Linked DNA regions of Homo sapiens: region 1 is linked to region 2. Evidence: promoter capture Hi-C in human tissues and cell types (Jung and others, 2019). All regions are on one chromosome and are shown on one strand. Each heading gives the region's core, a stretch centred on a gene start or on the middle of the fragment in contact. The rest is flanking DNA. Distances are from core to core; before and after follow the strand shown.

Region 1 (3,905 bases), core at 701-3,200, 1.3 Mb before region 2:
TCCCCAAGCCAGGATGAATCCCATCATCCATTTACTCTGCTCTGGCGCTCACGGCAGAGAATACAGATTGGGGTCCTTATAAATTTCTGGTTTCTAACCTCGGCTGGGCACTCCGTTCTGCTATTTGTTTCTTTTATTGGTCCCTGGGAAGTTCTTTTTTTTCAGTCCTCTTGTATTTGTTTCTGAGACGTCCCCCTTTTGTCAAACTTTCTATCCCTATCCCTGTTCTCTCCCTCTTGTTCTCTTGGCCAAAGGAGCTGGCTTCACGGAGAAAGTTGAAGTTGCCTCTCTCTGCCTGTCATTGGACTTGGATTACCTCATGCATTAAATGTATTCAGTGATAGCACCAGCCTCAGCACATGTGAGGATAGGATGACATATATAAGGAGCTTAAAAGAGAGAATAACAACAACAAAAAAGAGCTCAGTGGGCTCACTGTTATTATTGTTATTATTATGAATTTTAAAAAGTACTAGCATGGCATGAATCCTTCATCCTCCACCCACGTTTCATCATTTCCTACTTTTGCATCGGATTCTTCACTCTTAACGTCAAGGATCATGGACTTTATTCCTGTATCCTCCTCTTCACTCAGTCTTTATAAACATCAGTCCAAAATAGAACATCTCATCCTTAATTTAAAAAATAAAATAAAAAACCTTTCTGTAGCACTTTTCAAAATACCATGCAACAGCCCACCGTTGTGGCTGAAGTCTTTGAAAGTAGATTTTACCCTCTCTCAACTCTCTCAATTACTTTCCTCTTCTCATACACCTGCCTTCTGGTATCTGCTCCCATAAGTCTAATAAAAAGCTTAATAGGGCCATTAATGATGTCTTAATTGCTAAATAGGGCTAAAGGACATTTTTAGCCCTCTTCTACTTGATCTCTCTGTAGCATTTGATGCTGCTGGCCATTTCCTTATACAAGGAAGCTCTCCCACTTCTGTTTCCATACCATTCCTCTCTCAGACACCTCTCCCAGCTCTGTTCTCATCCTGTCTCACCCTTACAGACTCCTTCTCTTCTTCATTTTTTTTTGAGACAGAGTTTGGCTCTTATTGCCCAGGCTGGAGTGCAGTGGCGTGATCTCGGCACACTGCGACCTCCGCCTCTCGGGTTCAAGCAATTCTCCTGCCTCAGCCTCCCAAGTAGCTGGGATTACAGGCATGCACCACCACGCCTGGCTAATTTTGTGTTTTTAGTAGAGACGGGGTTTCTCCATGTTGGTCAGGCTGGTCTCAAACTCCTGACCTCAGGTGATCCGCTGGCCTTGGCCTCCCAAAGTGCTGGGATTACAGACATGAGCCACTGCGCCTGGCTTTCTTTCTTTTTTTTTTTTAAATAGGGGAGGTGGCTGTCTTTGGACCAGTTCTCTTCATGCAGATGTTCTGAATGGTGTCATTCACTCCCATGGTTTAAACAATATAATAGCTAAATCCCAAACTTATGTCGTGAATGGCCATAGTTCCTAACACAGATGGTGTTATACAACAGCTATCTTCTCCCATTTCCCTTGTTAAAAGAACCCTGCTTTTGTTTTGGTAAGTGATGGTGATGTGTGGAGGGAAAGAGGACCTCTTCTCTATCCCCAAGGAATGGCCCGTGACTAATCTAAGCAATTCATGTGAGCTCCTAATAGCCAGTGGAGCCTGAGCAGTAGTCAGCTCAGAGATTCTCAGAAATAGAATCCTTAAAGATGATAGATAGATAGATGATAGATAGATAGATAGATAGATAGATAGATAGATAGATAGATAGATAGATGATAGATAGATGGATGACAGTGACCAAGGCTAAGAGGAAAGGGATCTATTTTTTCTACTTTTGAATGCTATTGTGAGGATGACAGATGTAAGAGCTGTGGCAGCCATCTTGTGACCATGAAGGCAAATATGGCTGACACTGACAATGTCAGGGAAGAACTGATGAAAAGACCCTGACTCTTTGTTGGCCTTCTTTATCTACTGAATCATGCAACCCTGCAACTACCTCCTTCCAAGCTTTTTTATCAAATGTGAGAAGAAACATCTTCATTGCTTAAGATACTTGCAATTGTGAATCCTTTTTGCATATATACATATCCAGGTTATAAGACCCTTAAGGTCCATAGGACAGAGGAGAGAATGCATGGATATTAGACCTCAGCATCTGGGAGAATCATTATGACCTTATGATGTGGACTGGCATCATGGGGTCAGGCAAGGATATATGAAACGTACATTTAAAAAAGCAGCACTGGTTTCAGACATATGTGGACCCTTTTTTGTTTCTCACATTGCAATGCATTGCTTTATCCCCTTGCAATTCTATTCCTCTATCATATTAAAAAGTAGCATTTTGTAACACATCTTTGGGTTCAGCATCTTTTCTGCACCACCACAGTTATGCAAGTTACAAATTCCCCCAGAGGCTTCTCAAATTTTGGGGGCATTAACATATTATATCCAACGTATAGATGCTCTTCTCCCAAATTTCAGGTTCAAGACATCTGAAATCCCAAGTTACCTAAATCCTATTAAATACTTGACTCTAAACAACCCCCATTAAGGTAAACAACCTCCAGAGGCTCTATCTTGAGTTAAGGACAAATACCAAGAAGAGTAACAACTAATATCTCTGGAGAAATCCTGTATTCATGGTACTTAGATTATCAGCAGCATTTATATAGTTGATCACTCATCCCTCTCTCCAACAGCTGCCTTACTTCACTTTCCAAGAACATCTATTATTTGTATGACTAATCCACACCATTGGTCACTCTTCATCCTTGCATGCTGTTTACACCTCATTTTCCAGGTCCTTCAGTCCTTGTCATGCTGGTTACACCCCATTTTCCAGGTCCTTTAGTCCTTCTTTATGTATTTGTATTACTAGGTAACCTTAAACATTCTCATGATTTTAGACACCCTCTATGCTGGTGACTACAAATTGCACATTTTTAGCCCAGAGCTTTCTCTTGAACTCCAGATTTTTCTATTGAAGTACCATTTGGGAATATCATAGGCATCTCAGTCTTAATACATCCAAATCAAATTTCAGATGTCCTAAATCATCCTAACTTGTTTCTCCCAATGTTTCTCCATCTGAGTAAATGGCTGCTTTGTCTTTCCAAGCCAAAATCTATATTCACTCTTGCTCCTTTCTTTCACTTATACTTTGCATATAATTTAAAAGAAAGTATGTCCAGAATCCAGCTACCTCTCATCAATCCCATTTAGGACTGTTAGGTTTTGCAAATAGTTGCAGAAGACATATTTATGCTAAGCATTTATTAATCTTACGGGTTCTTTTGAGATCTCCCCATAGTGGTCCACCTTTCACCAGTTTATTCCCTTTTCTATTTGTAATTTATTGTACATCTGGGGCCATGTTAACTGACAAGGGAAACTGATTATATCATCCCCTTACTAATACACTACTTGTGTAATACCTATATTAGTCACTTACTTCTTTACTTGGAAGTGACAGGCAGCACAATTCAAATATGATTCAGGACTAAATGGAATTTACTGGCTCATGGAACAGATTTACAAAAGGTGGCTGGCTTCAGGTATAATTTATATCTAATAATTTAATAATATCAGTAAGTGTTCTCTTTTTCAACCCCATCCTTTTTACCGCCTCTGTCTTTCAGCATTTTATCTCTGATGATCTCTTTTTGACTTCATTCTTAGATTTTTTTCACATGAGGTCATTACAGCTACTTGCAGACAAGCCTACATTACTCTTAACAATTCCACAGAAGAAAGCATTTTTGTAAGGGCTCCATCAAAAAAATGGGTCACATGGTCACTCAGAAACTAATCGCTGTGGCCATGGATCTGGAACACTCTGAGTCTGGCTTAAGTCACCCTCAGGGACTGGGAAGAGCCAGCCCCTACCCTTATGACTTGGGAAACATAA
Region 2 (3,789 bases), core at 1,290-3,789:
TACCTCAGTGCCTTTGCACTTGCAGATCCTTCTGCCGATAATGTTCTTCCCATGGCTGGGCACTTCTTAGCACCTAGTGTACCCCCAAATGTCACAACCTTGATCTCTCATTGGTTTTCTATGACATTTAGTACAGTTTACATTGAGTTTGTCTGTTACTTCTTTTTGTCTAACTCTCCCTACTAGAATATAGGCTCCATGGGGGCTGTCACTGTGTGTATATTTCTGTGGGCTAGCCCCAGGATGTAGCCAAGCTGCGTGATTTTGGACAAGTCACTTAACCTCTCTGAGCCTGCTCAATAAATATTAGGGGGAGGAAGCAAGGAATGGCTGGGTGGGTGGGTGCAGAGAAGAATGAATGGGTGGATAGGTAGGTGGGTGGGTAGAAAGCAGGTAGATAAAGAAGGCAGGCAGGAGGGAGGGAGGAGAAATTGAATATCCTTGTTTTCATACACACCCCAGAGCAGTGTAGTGAGTTAAGAGTGCGGGCTCTGGAGCCCAAATGACTGAGTTCAAATCCCAACTCTGGCACTCATCAGCTGTGTGACCTTGGACAAGTCACTTAACCTCTCTGAGCCTCAGTTTCCTCATCTGTAAAACAGGGACGATGATGATGATGATGATAACTATCTTCTAGACTCATTCTTTTTCATTTTGGGGATTTTATTTTTGAAGACAGAGTCTTGCTCTGTTGCCCAGGCTTGAGTGCAGCACTACAGTCATAGCTCACTGCAGCCTTCAGCTCCTTGGCTCAAGTGGTCCTCCCACCTCAGCCTCCAGAGTAGCTGGGACTACAGGCGTGCACCACCATGACTGTCTAATTTTTAAATTTTTTTATAGAGACAGGGTCTTGCTATGTTGCCCAGACTGGTCTTGAACTCCTAGCCTCAATCGATCCTCCCACCTCAGCCTCCCAAAATGATGGAATTATAGGTGTGCACCGCTGCACACAGCCTTCTCGAGTATTTCTGAGGTTTAAATGAGAGGGTGCATCTTTAAAGTCCTTAAAACCCTGGCACACAATGAGCTTTCAGCAAATATTAGCTCTTTTTACTGTCTCTTCTCCTGATCTTTCAACCACTACAAATTTCAGTGCATGTTATCAGAGAATTCACCCCGAAGATCAAGAGAAAGAAAAACAAAAGCTGGTGTCTTCCCAAGGTTCGTTCTCCAGAGAACACGACACACTTCGGTAGCTGGGAAGAGCTCTACAGGGCCAGGATCCCTCAAATCAACCACAGGGGAATTTGTACCAAGTTCCTCAAAAACAGCTAGAAAAAAAAAGAAAGAAAGAATAGCAAGACGCTTTCTCTTTTTTCTCTGGAGTGGTCACGAAAGTCAACAGCAAGTTGATTCCCAAAAATGAGTCAGCAGGGAGAGCTACAAATTGCATCTTGTTATCAAAACAGCATAAAATAGCCTCCCCCAACTGTGGGACATTTCATCCTGGTATGGCCCCGTTTTCACAGCCTGGTATAAGCTTAGGAATCAAACACACCCAGGTTCAAATCCCAGCTCTAATTCTTCTTGGCTTGTGTGACGTTTCACTCCTCTGGGCCTCAGTCTCTCCATCTGTAAAATGGGACTAATCTTGTCTGCCTCACACTTTGTGGGATAAAGTGAGATCATGTAGGCACCAAAGTAATTCGAGGTGGTGGTGATGGCAGTGGTAGTGGTGGTGGTGGTAGCGGTGGTGGTGGTAGCAATTCTCTTGCTCTCCTTTGGAGACTGCACTAGGCATTAAGCTTGTTACATTTTGTCTCCTGGTTTCTTGAATGTCTTCCAGAAACATCTGACCCTCTCATGGGCCTCTGGCATGTTAGCAAGATGAAAACTCTCTTGAGAATTTCTTTTCTCTATTTTCTTCTTGAATTCTCATGTGTTAATGTCTGCCCTCTTCCTCATAGCTAGGTGCCCCCATTTGACAGATGGGCAAAGTGAGGCATTCAGAGAGGTGATGTGACGTGCCCAAGGGGTCCTGCTCCCTGGAGCTCTGCAGCAGGAGACTGGATCCAAAGGAAATGGAGGCAGAGAGGCATGGGGGTCAAGCCAGAGCAGAGGGTCCCAAGCTCAGACCCTATTAGGCAGGTAAGGCTCAGGAATAAGAAACAGGCTGGTTTGCAAAGTCTGAAAAAGGGGCTTCCGTGGGACCTTGGGCAAGGTTCTGGTCCTTCTCTCTGTGCTGAGGGGCTGGAGTCGGCCACTGAGGACTCTGGGTCCACGGGTGAAACTGTGCCACATCTTCACACCTCTGGCCTCAGTTTCCATATCTGTGCAATGTGGTGGCTCCAGGAGGCACTGCCTGCCTCATGGGTTATGACTGAGAGGCCTGTGGGGATGATGTCACAGGTCCCTAAGAGGGAAGTGTCACCCCGATGGCCCCAAATGTCTTACTTGCAGGTGACCTTTGGTGACAGTGGGTGCCTGCTGTGGGGCCAGGCCCCCTCCCACCTCTTTCTCACTCCCTCCCAGGAGGAGCCCAGCTGCGGGTGGGCGGGGCTGGCGGGGAGCGGCTCACCACATCCTCCTCTTCCTCCCCACTCTGCACATGCGGCTGGGTGGCAGCCAGCGGCCTCAGACAGACCCACTGGCGTCTCTCTGCTGAGTGACCGTAAGCTCGGCGTCTGGCCCTCTGCCTGCCTCTCCCTGAGTGTGGCTGACAGCCACGCAGCTGTGTCTGTCTGTCTGCGGCCCGTGCATCCCTGCTGCGGCCGCCTGGTACCTTCCTTGCCGTCTCTTTCCTCTGTCTGCTGCTCTGTGGGACACCTGCCTGGAGGCCCAGCTGCCCGTCATCAGAGTGACAGGTCTTATGACAGCCTGATTGGTGACTCGGGCTGGGTGTGGATTCTCACCCCAGGCCTCTGCCTGCTTTCTCAGACCCTCATCTGTCACCCCCACGCTGAACCCAGCTGCCACCCCCAGAAGCCCATCAGACTGCCCCCAGCACACGGAATGGATTTCTGAGAAAGAAGCCGAAACAGAAGGTAATTCCAGCCCTGGTTTTCTGCTGGGACCAGGGTGCCTTCTCTGCCCAGGAGGGACTGTTCCCTGCCTGCTGCATCTAGTGTCACAGTGGGAGGGCTCGGAGGACTGTGCCCAAGTCACAATTGGGGACACTGAGGCAAAGAAGATTCATGCAGTGAGGCTGGGCAGAAATGAGGTTGGGGTCTCTTGTTCAGCACAGCTTAGGGGCCCAGCAGCAGGGATGTGGCTGAGACGACCCTCTATCTTGAAAACCAGCCTCCAAAATGTAGCGGGCTGGGGAAGGAAAGCCAGTTTCAAGCCAAACATAACATGTCAATCACCCGATTCTGGGCGGCTGAGTCGGGAGGTGACGGGCATGGGTGTAGAGCCTGATGGGACCCATTCTGTGTCAGTTTCTATGTCTTACCACCTTGATTCCACCCAGTCATTCAAAACAATGGCTGGTGTGCCCATTTCGCAGATGAGGCAATGAGGCTGCGAGAGGTAGAGTGATTTTCCCTCGGTGACTCAACTGGGACGTAGCAGGTCGGGCAGTCAAGCCAGGTGACCCCATGAGCTGTCGCTGCATCTTTCTCATGAAGCACGGGGAACGGGTCGGATGGTAAGAGGCCAACCCAGTTCCCTGTGCATGTGGAGGAGAGGAGGGTGGGGAGGTCAGTGGAGGCTGAGCCTTGAAGGATGGGAAAGGAAGAACATTCCTGGTGGAGGAGCCCTGGGGAGCGGGAACTTAGGACTTGCCGCAGGAATGACGTCTCTGCTCAGTGAAGGCAGAAGACCAGGTGCGGGACATTCAAAGCCAGGAGG

The links. Contacts are between HindIII fragments. The study calls those that stand out against the background at their distance.
Region 1: a contact is called between a fragment that was not itself captured here and the fragment with the promoter of IL21R in region 2, in 1 of the 25 tissues and cell types used here (dorsolateral prefrontal cortex).

What each region holds. Positions count from the first base shown.
Region 1 is chr16:26,145,794-26,149,698 of GRCh38, forward strand. No RefSeq gene overlaps it. Among named protein-coding and RNA genes, the nearest start is that of MIR548W, 120 kb to the left of the region's middle. The HindIII fragment of the contact is 4,001 bases long and covers 1-3,905 here.
Region 2 is chr16:27,399,635-27,403,423 of GRCh38, forward strand. It overlaps IL21R (interleukin 21 receptor), which reads left to right and starts at 2,540. Exons shown (of 9, transcript NM_181078.3): 1 at 2,540-2,984. RefSeq lists enhancers at 2,617-3,159, 3,052-3,171. The HindIII fragment of the contact is 8,819 bases long and covers 1-3,789 here.